Regions from separate parts of the Homo sapiens genome. Here regions 1, 2 and 3 are each linked to region 4. The links are contacts of gene promoters, found by promoter capture Hi-C in human tissues and cell types (Jung and others, 2019). All regions are on one chromosome and are shown on one strand. Each heading gives the region's core, a stretch centred on a gene start or on the middle of the fragment in contact. The rest is flanking DNA. Distances are from core to core; before and after follow the strand shown.

Region 1 (2,968 bases), core at 60-2,559, 160 kb after region 4:
TGACTTTTGCTATGAGAATCTGCTTCTTCTTAGACTTAAGTGTATGATAAATTATTCATGACCAAGGGCCTTGTTTTTCTTTCTTTAACATGGGATTTAGTGGCTTATCTCATGTTACAGGATTTAGAGAGTTGATACTACATTTAAATTTTTTGTTAAGAAAAATGTACATCTTCTATCTCACTTAGGTGTTTTTCCTGTTTGAGGGACATGGTTTGCAAAGGTTAGAATGAATGAGCCTCATAGTTTTTGTCAAAAGAGAATATTGATGTACATCTGAATAATAACCAGAACATTCATATTAAGTCATACTATATAGCCATTTAAAAGAATGACGAGTACATAAAAGACTGTTGTGGAAGTCTATGATATATAGCTGAATAACAAAATAGATTATAGAACAATAGGTAAAAATGAGCTTATTTTTGTCTAAGCCACTCTCCCCCCAAAACATGCAAAATTACAGCTATTTATCTGTGTATGTATGGATAAAGGTCTTCAAGGATATAAAATAAATTCTAGTTATGATATTTATTATCTTAATAAGTTTATTATAATTATACATGTTTTCCTCCGAGGAAATGGATTGCAGATGATGATTGAAGGGATTTTCAATTTTTACTTTGTATATTTTTGTATTTGAATTTCTAAATAATAAGCATATGATTCTGTTTAGAAATTCTGAATGTACTGATTTTTAAAATGTGATGTGATATCCAGATATGTATTTAATTCTTCCTATAAAATATCATTTCCTTAAATCTAGACTATTGAAAAAGGAGAAAAGTACTAGGAATTTAGAGAACTTACTCCATGTTAGAACCAAGGAGAACAAGAAAAGCTTTAGCTAGTGTTTTGGAAATAGTAGCAGCTCCCACTCACAGCAGTAGCTGCTGCACTCAGGCGACTCTCTGCACATGCTTTTGCTTCCTTTGGGTTGTTTGGTCCGCAGTTTGCATTCATTGATCAGTGAGTTGATTCAGACTCAAACCCACCGACAGCAATGAATGTTGAGTGCAGCCATCAGTGTTTTCAGTTGGTGGGGTTGCCTTTGCCCTCCCTGGCTGACTCCTGGCTCTTCTTTTCCATCTCAGTTCTTTGAAGTCTGTGTGTCTGGCTTCTCCCTTAGTAACCAGCCATCTGCATGATTGAGGGCCCACACAGGTGTCCATAACATTGACATTGGAGCTGGGAGGTTATTGCAGATGAGGAAGCTGTGGTTCAGAGAAGGAAGGAGTGCTTGGAGAACCTCACAGGTAGCACTGCGCCACACAGGCAGTGCTTGCATATTAGTACCTGTAAACCACAGCTGAGGGACCTGCTTTTCCTCTTTGTTTTGAACTGAGAAGTATGAGTGCTTTTTTGAGGTAAATTAGCAGATTATGTTGGAGTTTAATAATAACAGCTTACATATATTGAGCATTTGCTGTGGGCTAGTAATGGTACAAAGCACCTTATATATTATCTCATTGAGTCTCAAAACTCCATGATAGGTACTCTTAGCCTCTGTTTTATATGTGAGAAAACTGAGACACTTGCTTAGGGGGTCAAATAACTAGTTAAGGGCTTGAGCCAAGATTCATCCCAGATCTGACTGACTCCAGGGCTAAGTTTTTGCTTGAATTTAGCAAACATTTAAATAAGCATATGTGGGGATATGTGGGCACTAGTAAGGCAATAGCTCATGCTCTAACTGGGATATCAAAAATTAACCATATTAACTATAATTCAAAGTGAAATGTGATAAGAACTGTCACAATTGGATAATTTTGTGCTATTTTTGCTTATTAAATCCTCCCCTTGCCCCTAATTAAAAATTTTGAGAGGATGTGGGAGAAATGGGAGTAATTATTTAACTGGATTTTATTCCAAAACAAAATACGTATTTTTAATAAATTTTTACTTGCTACGTCCTGTTTCTCACCAGAATGGTGCATATCTAGGAGACATGTAGGTACATTAGATATCATCATGGACTGCTCCTTACCTTGTTGAAATGAAACACTTTTTTTGTAAAAACAAACAAATAATAATAAAACACACAACAGAAAGCAAGGAACAGTGAGCAGTAGGAATAAAATTCACTGGACCACATTTGGGGGATTGCAGGACCATTTCTGGTGAACTCATGTGACATGTGAAGGTACAGCTTGCTCTTTTGCTTCAGGAAATGTAGTGTCGTCTGTAAGGACCCCAAGGTACAGTCAACGGTCAGTGGTTTTTTCAAATCCCAAACTCACCGACAGCGTTGAATGTTCCTTGGAGTCCTCTGAAGGCTGGCCTGATAGCCCTTCTTCATTCTCCCATCCACATCCCAAGAACCAGTGAGCAGTGAGACCACCGCTGATGGATGCTCTTACATTCCTCTCTGGGTTTCAAGTCGAGAGTATTTAAATTATAAAATCAATTTGTGTGCAGCAGAGAACTAATGAACTGTGGGATAGACTGTGCAGTAATTTGTACAAGCAGACTCAAATGAATGTCTGAGAAAATGTCTTTGAATGGTATTATTTTGTGATTCTAAAAATGTAAAATACCTGATTTTGCAGTAGTATTTTAATTGTTAACAAGGGTAAGAGATTAACATATATTGGGGATCTGCTATATACTAGGATTTGTATATTTTATCTCATTAAATTCTCAACAACCCACATTTTCCTGATGAAAAAACTTGAAGTGATTTGCCTAAAGTTACATTGCCAGGAGCCAAGGTTATAAGCCAGAATTTGAATACTGGACTTCATGTTTCCAGTGCTCACTCATCATACTGCTTCTGTTGTCTACTACAGAACTTACTGTTGATATCTAGGAGTAGACCCATCACTGCAGAGCCAAAGTCAAACATGTAAATTTCTTCTACTTGTTTGCCTATAATAATAGCAGGTAGGTCTATAGGTGAGGTCATAGGGGAAGATGAAAAACCTCGACCTCCATGATTGATGATCTCCTTTGCTGAGATCCTGCATTA
Region 2 (3,155 bases), core at 100-2,599, 130 kb after region 4:
GTCTGGAGATTTTAATGAATGACTAAGAAGGAATGAGAAGAAATTCTGAGGCTAGTTAGGTTCTGCAGTTGTTCTTTCCATGGGAGCAATATTGCAGTAACATTTTCAGATGAGACAAAGACTTTTAATAAACATTTGTTTTATTTTATTAAAAAAAAGCTGAAAGGGGTTGCTTAAATTCAGTGCTTGATAACAAGGGAATACATGGGAATTCTTCTCTTCCTTTTTTGAACTCTTGCCAAAGAGAAAACCTTCTGTGTTAGGCAAACGTATCAGTAGTGGGGGGATACCCTAGATTAAAGTCACTGTCTTCAAAGTTGTACATAGTTTTACAAATTAACTTTTTTTTTCTAAATATCTCACATATTCTTAGCATGCTGAGGCTATAATAACTCAGTTCTAACTGAGGCCCTTTCTGGGTACTCTTTGGTCAACCGGGACCACTCTTTGCCTCTTTACCTGAAGCTACTTTGTTTTTGTTTTATTTTGGTCCAGTATTTGTCATAGATATGATCTGAAAGAAAAGATAAGCCTCTCTCTTTGAAGAGAGCCGACAGTCATTGTGAACCAAAATTGAATGTGCTTTGTTGGTAAGCATAAGAAAATCAAAACTGCAAAATAAGATTCAAAGTGAAAATACAGTGTTAAAGATCTTTTTCATCTGTTAGTACAAAATTCCATGTCCTAAGTGTAGTCTGCCCTATAGATGTATTTTGTTTGACTTCCAGGATGTTTAAATAAAATCATGTTAGTTGTCAACATTTAAAATGTTCAAGATGGCCGGGCGTGGTGGCTCGCGCCTGTAATCCTAGCACTTTGGGAGGCTGAGGTGGGTGGATCACCTGAGGTCAGGAGTTCGAGACCAGCCTGGCCAACATGGTGAAACCCCATCTCCACTAAAAATACAAAATTACCTGGACGTGGTGGCGCATGCTTGTAATCCCAGCTACTTGGGAGGCTGATGGAGGCAGGAGAATTGCTTGAACCCTGGAGGTGGAGGCCGCAGTGAGCTGAGATTGCGTCATTGCACTCTAGCCTGGGTGACAAGAGCAAAACTGCATTTCAAAAAAACCCAAAAACGTTCAAGAGTTTCAAAAAACTTTGGATTTCTGGCTTTCTTGATAAATTGTAATATCTAACATTGAGCTCAGATTTTTATATGGCATCTCTTGGCTGGAACAGAGTAGTGGCTGCCTTCTTTATATGGATTGGGGACACGGTCTTTTGTCACCCAGGCTGGAGTGCAATGGTGCGATCATGGCTCACTGCAGCCTCGACCTCCTGGGCTCAAGCAGTTCTTCTCACCTCAGTCTCCCGAGTGGCTGGGACTATAGGCGCGCATTACCGCGGTGGGCTAATCTTTGTGTTTTTTTGTAGAGGTGGGGTTTCACCAGGTTGCTCAGGCTGGTTTCCAACTCCTAGACTCAAGCAATCCGCGCACCTCGGCTTCCCAGAGTGCTGAGATTACAGGTGTGAGCCACTGTGCTCAGCCTGCTGCCTTCTTTAAATGAGCGTATACTCTTAGGTTTTCACAGAACCTTGGTGGCCTCCTTTACCCATTTACGTTTCCTGCTAGTCTTCTGTAGGCATTTGAGTTTTCAGCTCCTACATTAAATAATTTTTAGGGATGATGAGAGTGTGGGAAAATGGGAACTCTTAAAAATGTAATCTGATACCTATTAAAACTGATAATGTGCAGGTTAATTTTTCAGACTTGGCAGTTTAAAATTTAAAAATATAAAATTTAAAATTACAGGCCAGGTGAGAGGTAGCTCACTCCTGTCATCCCAGCACTTTGTGGATCCCTTGAGCTCAGGTGTTTGAGACCAGCCTGGGCAACATGGCAAAACCTCATCTCTACAAAATATACAAAAATTAGCTGGGTGTGGCGGCACATGTCTGTAGTCCCAGCTACTTGGGAGGATCACTTGGTCCTGGGAGGTCGAGGCTACAGTGAGTTGTGATCGCACCACTGCACTCCAGCCTGGGCAACAGAGTGAGACCCTGTCTCCACCCTCCCCGCCACAAAAGAAAACTTAGATTGAACAATTCATACGTCTAGGAATTTATCCTAAATACTTGACAGTTATGAAAAATGTATGTTTACAGATGCTTCTTTTAGCATTTATAATAGTAAAAAAAATTGGATAACCAGGCGTGCTGGTGCATGCCTGTCATCCCAGCTACTGGGGATGCTGAGGTGGGAGGATCGCTTGAGCCCAGGAGGTGGAGGCTGCAGTGAGCCAAGATCGCGCCACTGTACTCCAGCCTGGGCAGCAGAACGAGACCCTGTCTTTAAAAAAAAAAAAAAAAAAAAAAAAAAAAGGTAACAATTTAAGTTTAATAGGGGACTCGATAAATGGATTGTGGTTATTCATGCAGTAGGATGCTGTAGACTTAAGGAGAAGGCAAATTTTTAGTCTGGAAGGTGATCCAATTTTAATAGTGGTGTTTTTGGGAAAATGAGATTACAGGGTATCTTTCATTATCTCTGAGTTTTCTGTTTTTAAGAACATCACATTATTAAGAAAAAAGACATGCATTTAAAAAATTCTCTCTCATTTTAGCTGCCAGATTTCCATGGCTATTCTGCCAAATTGAGCCAATAGGTTCTAGCTTCCACTTAAAGCACAGATTTTACATTCAGAATTCTGTTATCTTGAAATTGTTCTAAGGAAGGGGGAATCAGAGTCCTCAAGTAGCAGGAACCATCTTTGAAGTCTGAGAATAAAGTAAAAGACTTCTACAGCATTTTCAGGCTTCTACTTGCAACCCTGCTTCCATTCACTAGTAAAGCCATCAGAATTTGCCTCCTTTTCAGTGTCAGGCTTGAGGCTTGAGCCAGCACTATTGATAATGGAGGGAGCTTCTTATATAAATTGGGCTATCCTGACAGTTGCAGGGATACCTGCTGAAAGCGACCCTAATGAAATGCATGGGTGCATGGTACAGTGGAAAAAACATGAGTGAAAGTTAGCATCCTGGCCTTCCTGCTTTCTTGCTGAGTAGCATAGGCAACGTGTGAAGCTCAGTTTGTTCATCTTTGAAACAGTAGTAATTCTTGTTAAATGTTGTTTTAAAAAATAATGAGATAATATACATGAATTGCCCAGCAGTTAGCTGCTCTAGTCCTGCATGTTTCTCTTTTGTGGAAA
Region 3 (2,748 bases), core at 197-2,696, 180 kb after region 4:
TGGTGGTGCCCACCTGTAGTCCCAGCTACTTGTGGGGCTGAGGCAGGAGGATCACTTGAACATGAGAGGTTGAGGCTGCAGTGAGCTGAGATCAAGCCACTACACTCCAACCTGCGTGACAAAGTGAGACTCTGTCTCCAGAAGAAAGGAAATAGTAATAATAATTTGGAAGTAAAGCTTGGTAGTTACTATACTATTTTGACCATATATGAAAATTTGAAATATTTCATGATAGGAAACATAATCCTATCACTCTAAACATGTCAAATTATATATCTAGTTTATGAGCACTAAGGCCTTTTTTTTTCTTCTTTAACCTGTTATTTTTGAGATTTGGAATTTTTATGTTTTTCTTGGATGCCACTGGAGGGAAATAGAGAATGAAGTCTTGTTTGTGTGGTATCAGTTGTTGAAAGGGACAAACGCAGTTTTGATCTTGAAACTAGCTTATGTGTAAATTCTTTTCAGTCTTGAATATGAGTGAAGTAAAGGTAACCACTTAGCTCTGTTAAGTATATGATTGCTCTAGTCACGAATTTTAAAGGTTCTATCGTTCATAAGTTTGTCTAGTACTTACTGAGGACTTGCCATATATCTGATATTGTGAGAAGAACTGTCCCAAACGGTGACATTACTATTTCATTTTGCATTTGAGGTTACTGAGGATCTGGATACTTAAACTTCCAATGTCAGAATATAAACAAGAAAGTAATCATCACTCTATAAACTGATTCTTTATTGCCACAAATGGATTATCACTACTTTAGGAGAGATCCTGTTTTTGAAGTCTACTGTTTTAGAAGTCTTTTTAGAGCTTGTACTAAGTGGCCTTTAAAAATCTCATAATAATTTCTAACACTTTCTTAATAACTTGGCAGTATGGCTTTGTCATTTAAAACAAAATCTGGAGGAAAGGAAAATATTTATTTCCCTGTGGCATGAAAAGAGGCTATATGTAGGTCATTTTTTTTTTTAAATAAAAGGCAAGAAAGTCTCCCTCCAGACCACATCAGAACTATGCCAGCTTGGTACGGGGCCCTTACCAGAGTAATGATGTAAGAATCTGAGAGTACATAGTGCAGCTGCCAAAGCTCATAATGTTTAATTTCAGCACTGTCTGTTTGCCAGAGTTTGCAGCTCAATATTTTTTTCTGTATGGATCAAATTATAATCACATATATTTATCTTATTGGGGTAGGAGAAGTAAAGAGTTATTGTTTGATAAATTTGCCGTTTTCCTAGGGAATGGTGCTGTTTTGCCTGTCACATGCTTCTGAGCATTATTCCCCCACTGATTCCTAAGAACTTATTCTCCTGGGTGAATTCTTCTAACTTGTGACACAGAGGGGCAATTCACACCTTGCCTGTTTATATTTTGCAAGAAAACCCTTCTCTTAGCGTGGGTATCTATTCAGGCAGTTCCATGTGCTACATTCCATCCATTTGCCAAGTCTTGGACTCTTATCCAAAGTACAATATTTGAGTATACAATTACACCTACACGTACCGGCAAGAGCGTACTTTTTCCTAGCCTCTCTTGGAGAACGCTTGAAGCCAGAGGAGCAAATCCAGATGTTCTGGATTGAGTTTGGCACCTTCAATTGAGAATTCTAGATGGAAAGATTTCATTTGGAAGTGTACCAGGCTTGCCCAGCAGTTGCTTCCTGTTGCTAACCATCATATTTTTATGACCAAAGATTCTAGACTGCCTCCTTTGTTGAGCAGAAAGAATTACACACTAGGGCCACATGGGAAGTGGCTTCTCATCATTTGAGAGAAATATCAGCAGGCATGCAGAAGAGGGTAGCCTTGCTATTGGGAATAAATCTGGGTTGAGAGCAGGTACAACTACAGCTGCAGCTCTTTAGCCAGACCTGGCTTTATTTAAATTTCAAACAGAAATCTTTGACATCAACCTAAGTGAACCATTATTGGCTGTCTGCCACCTAACAGTACCTTGTACAAGGAGGAGGTGCTCTCTGACTGTATTCAGTCAACACTTATTGAACACCTTCTGTGTGTGCCAGGCAATGTGCTAGATGCTGGTGATGAATAAAGTATTTTTTCGAGAAGTTACAGTCTGGTAGGAGGCACAGACTCTTAGACAGATAAATTACAATTCACTGATTTTATTTGTTGCTTATACAATTTAGTATTTTGTTTGCTTTGTAAGTCAGCAACATAAGCCAGTCCACAGGATTAACTCCATAACTTTCTAAGTAAGAACAAGCATAGGATTTCCTTTCAGTTCTAAAGAATGTTTACTTGCTTGCATTTTTGCGTCTTTAGATACCTCTTCTGACTTGCCCAGGGATGAAGTTTGTGGAGTATGGGAAGAAAAGACTAGTATAAGGCAGGAAGGCATTTCTAAGAAAGCTTCCAGAATTGATTATTTTGTCCTAAGAGATGTTTTCTTCACTTAAAAATTATGTGAGAACGCACAAAGGTTAGCTGTGTTGGTTATCAGTTTGTTGTAAGGTAAGAGCAAGAAAAATCATTTTCCTCTATCTCTCTGGAATGTAGGACTCCTTTATCTGAGTGATTACATGGTTAAGGCGGAGCTAGAAAATACATTTCCTTCATACCTGTTTCTGGATGGATGAGGTCACATTTACTTAGTAGTTATATAGTTCCTGTGTTGTAATTTGCTATTCCTTCAGCCTTTTTTCCTCCCATTTTTGAAGATGGGTATATGAATATTTCCATTGGGCCTCTCTTAAATACAAGAAAAATATTAAGTTGCTTATG
Region 4 (3,065 bases), core at 102-2,601:
GGGTGGATCACGAGGTCAGGAGTTCAAGACCAGCCTGGCCAAGATGGTGAAACCCCGTCTCTACTAAAGATACAAAAAAATTAGCTGGGTGTGGTAGCAGGTGTCTATAATTCCAGCTACTCGAGAGGCTGAGGCAGAGAATTGCTTGAACCCAGGAGGCGGGGGTTGCAGTGAGCCGAGGTTGTCCAGCCTGGGTGACAGAGAGCGACTCTGTCACACACAAAAAAGGATGCAACAGTAAGTATTACTGTGTTACATTACAGTTGTTTTTGTATGTATGTGTGTGTGTGTGTGTGTTTTTAAAGAAGGCTGAGTCCAGGCCTGTTAGAGTCTAAGCCCCAGCACCCAGATATCTCGTCCCATCTCCCAACCTGCCCAGCCCTGCCTTGCACCCGTGCCCAGCTCATCGGAGGTCACTGCAGTCAGCTCTGCAGCATGCCAGACCCTTGTGCCTCGGTCTTCCCGGCCAGGTGTGGGAGCCCCACCTGTGTGGCCACCCAGCCTCCACAGCAGCTGCCCACTCCGGGTCTCCCAGCCATACACGCAGCCATCTTCTGAGCCTGTGAGCAGCATCTGGCCATCAGGGGAGAAGGCAGAAGAGTTGACCTAGAAACAGCACAAAAGCGGTCCCATTCTGGGGAAGAAACCCCTGTCCGCTCATCTCTGACCCCTAAACACTGCCCCCCAAGAGCCTGGGGTTGGAGCTTGACTTCAAGCCTCACTCCACCACCAGAGCCCAGAACCCGGGACCCACTGGGCCCTCTCTCGAGTCCCGTAAAGCCAGAGCCTGCAGTTGGAGGCAAGAGCCTTCTCTGGAACCAGAGCCTGGAACCCCAGAGCTAAGAGCCCATTCCAGAGCCGCAGCTGACAACGGAGAGTCCAGAATCTACTCTAAGTTCTGAGTTCACTTTAGAGCCAGGGCCCCAGAAAACACCAGAGTCAGCAGGGAGCTTTGTGCCCCTCTCGAGGCAGAGCCCAGAGCCCGGGGCTCTTTTTACAGGCAGAGCTTAGAACCTAGAGCTGCTCTGGAGCTGGGGCCCGGCACTGGAGCTGAGAACCTACTTCGATCCTTCTTGGGTTAGCAAAGTCTACTCTGGACTCAATGTCCTGAGCCACTGCCCAGAGAACATTCTGGAACCCCCACTACACAGAACCAGGAACCACTCTGCATCCAAAGCCGGGAGTCTGGGCAGAGCCCGCTGGACCTCACCTCCCCGCCGTGCTGGCCGAAGAATTTCACTCTCCGCACGGCCAGCGTGGCCGGGACCCCGCTGTTCATGGGCACCCGGCCCCGCCCCGCCCCGGCGGGCTCCCTCCTAGGCGGCCGCGGGACCCCAGGACTGGGCAGAGGAAAGAGGAAACTGTGTACAGGCGGTCTCCATGGTAATCGGGGCGGGGCGTGCGGCCATGGTGGGGTCCCTGCGAAGCCACGAGGACTGACAGGCAGGCCAGACCGCTTGCAGTTCGGCGGAGGTGGAGCCGCAGCAGGCGGGACCGCGGCGGGCTGGGAGAAGGGACTTCCCGCGCCAGCGGCTGCGCGTCCACTCTAGGGCAGCTCTCGCGCGGGGCAACACGGCAGGCAGAGCGGCCACTAGAGGGCGCGCCAGCCACACGCACCGCGCGGCCCAGAGCCCGGCCCCGCGCCCTGCGGACTGCGAACTGCAAGGGGTCCCTGCACCTCTTTGATACAGGGGAGCAACGAGCCTGTCTCCCCATCTGCACAACCGGGAGCATCAGCCCTGCCCCACAGGACTCCAGGGGTGAGCCAAGCACAGGGCCTGGCACACGGTAGATGCCCAAGAGGGCCCCCTCAGGAGCCAATACCCCTTCCGTCCAGGAGTGGCCAGTACTGAGGTTAAGGATGTCCCAGGAGAGCGCTGGGGACAGTAGCCAGCTCTGTCCTCCAGGGCGTGGAAGCCAGAGGTAGTGTGTGTAAAGTACATGGCATTAAAAGTGGGGTCACGTTGCTGTTAACATTCCTGGCAGCACAAAATGTGCCATCTGAGGATGGGGTGGAGGCTGGGGCTGGGGGGCAGTTGCCCAGGAGCTGCCAGGATCCTTACCGGATAGCGCAATCTGAAGCTTGGAACGAGCAGGACTTGGTTTCATTGTTAATTTACAGGTGAAGAAACTCACCCGGAGAGCTGGGAGGACTTGCTCAGAGCCACTCAGCCAGTAGGAGTGGAACTGGGATTTCAGCCCATGGCTGTCTGACTCTGGGTGTCTGTACTGGGACCACCTGCCATGAACTCCAGGGACCTCTCAGCAGATGTTGAGGTCCGCAACTCCTGGTACATCTGGGAAACTGAGGTCCGAAGGGGGCAGGACTTGGCCCAGCCATCTAGCCGGTGCTTCCATGGCAGAGCTGGGGCAGGACCCAGTCTCCCCACTCCCACAGCAGGACAGGGAGGGAACAGAGGACCCCCCACCTGCCCCGCCCATGGATTCTAGGCTCCCTGGGGGCAGGGGTGGAGCAGCTGGGCTTTGGGAGCTTCAAACTCAAGAGTTCCCAGCGGCGACTCACACCCTCCCCCCCTAAACCTCTTTGCCAGAAACTTCTCAGGAGATCCGCTGTGCTCCTGCTATTTTAAGTCCCAGACAGTCAGGCGGGTGAGGGAGCGACAATGACAGCTTTGAGGCAGTCCCACTCCATCCCAGATCCCAGAGGGCCTAGGTCACTGTGGGACCCTTCTGAGCTGGGCCTATAAAGCTGTCCCCCCACACCCAGATGTGGCTCCCAGACACAGCTCCCCAGAGCTACTATTCCCTGGCCCTCTGGCTCTCCTGCTCAGGCACCCCCCCAACCCATGCCCCGGCCCTGGGCACATTGTCTAGCCACTTGGTTGCTCCTGCTCTATCCAGAGGGCCCAGAGCCACCTTCCCCAGCCCAGCCCTTCACTCCCAGAACCCTCAGGGTAGACCTTGTCCACCAGGCCCAGTGACTGCTTGGCCGAAGGGGTGGAGCTGGGGTCGAAACCCGTGGGCTTGGCTCAGGCATCTGTAGGTGGAACCACCAACGTGAATGCCAGGGTCCGGAGGATCATCTCCGCGGATGAAGTGGTGGA

What was found. Contacts are between HindIII fragments. The study calls those that stand out against the background at their distance.
Region 1: a fragment that was not itself captured here is called in contact with the fragment with the promoter of WDR38 in region 4 in 1 of the 25 tissues and cell types used here (H1 embryonic stem cells).
Region 2: a contact is called between a fragment that was not itself captured here and the fragment with the promoter of WDR38 in region 4, in 1 of the 25 tissues and cell types used here (IMR-90 fibroblasts).
Region 3: a contact is called between a fragment that was not itself captured here and the fragment with the promoter of WDR38 in region 4, in 1 of the 25 tissues and cell types used here (mesenchymal stem cells).

Annotation. Positions count from the first base shown.
Region 1 is chr9:124,691,769-124,694,736 of GRCh38, reverse strand. All of the region lies in intron 2 of NR6A1 (nuclear receptor subfamily 6 group A member 1), which reads left to right. The region is part of intron 1 of MIR181A2HG (MIR181A2 host gene); the gene reads right to left. MIR181A2 (microRNA 181a-2) reads right to left here and starts at 2,295; the gene lies at 2,186-2,295. MIR181B2 (microRNA 181b-2) reads right to left here and starts at 1,027; the gene lies at 939-1,027. The HindIII fragment of the contact is 6,533 bases long and covers 1-2,968 here.
Region 2 is chr9:124,717,974-124,721,128 of GRCh38, reverse strand. The region is part of intron 2 of NR6A1 (nuclear receptor subfamily 6 group A member 1); the gene reads left to right. It overlaps LOC124902269 (a long non-coding RNA gene), which reads left to right. Exons shown (of 2, transcript XR_007061772.1): 1 at 1-3,155. Among named protein-coding and RNA genes, the nearest start is that of MIR181B2, 26 kb to the right of the region's middle. RefSeq lists an enhancer at 1-165. The HindIII fragment of the contact is 6,352 bases long and covers 1-3,155 here.
Region 3 is chr9:124,674,667-124,677,414 of GRCh38, reverse strand. The region is part of intron 2 of NR6A1 (nuclear receptor subfamily 6 group A member 1); the gene reads left to right. All of the region lies in intron 1 of MIR181A2HG (MIR181A2 host gene), which reads right to left. Among named protein-coding and RNA genes, the nearest start is that of MIR181A2, 16 kb to the left of the region's middle. The HindIII fragment of the contact is 3,220 bases long and covers 1-2,748 here.
Region 4 is chr9:124,851,746-124,854,810 of GRCh38, reverse strand. It overlaps WDR38 (WD repeat domain 38), which reads right to left and starts at 1,351. Exons shown (of 9, transcript NM_001045476.3): 1 at 1,211-1,351; 2 at 486-606. The coding sequence starts at 1,279. RefSeq lists a silencer at 1,250-1,299. The HindIII fragment of the contact is 15,289 bases long and covers 1-3,065 here.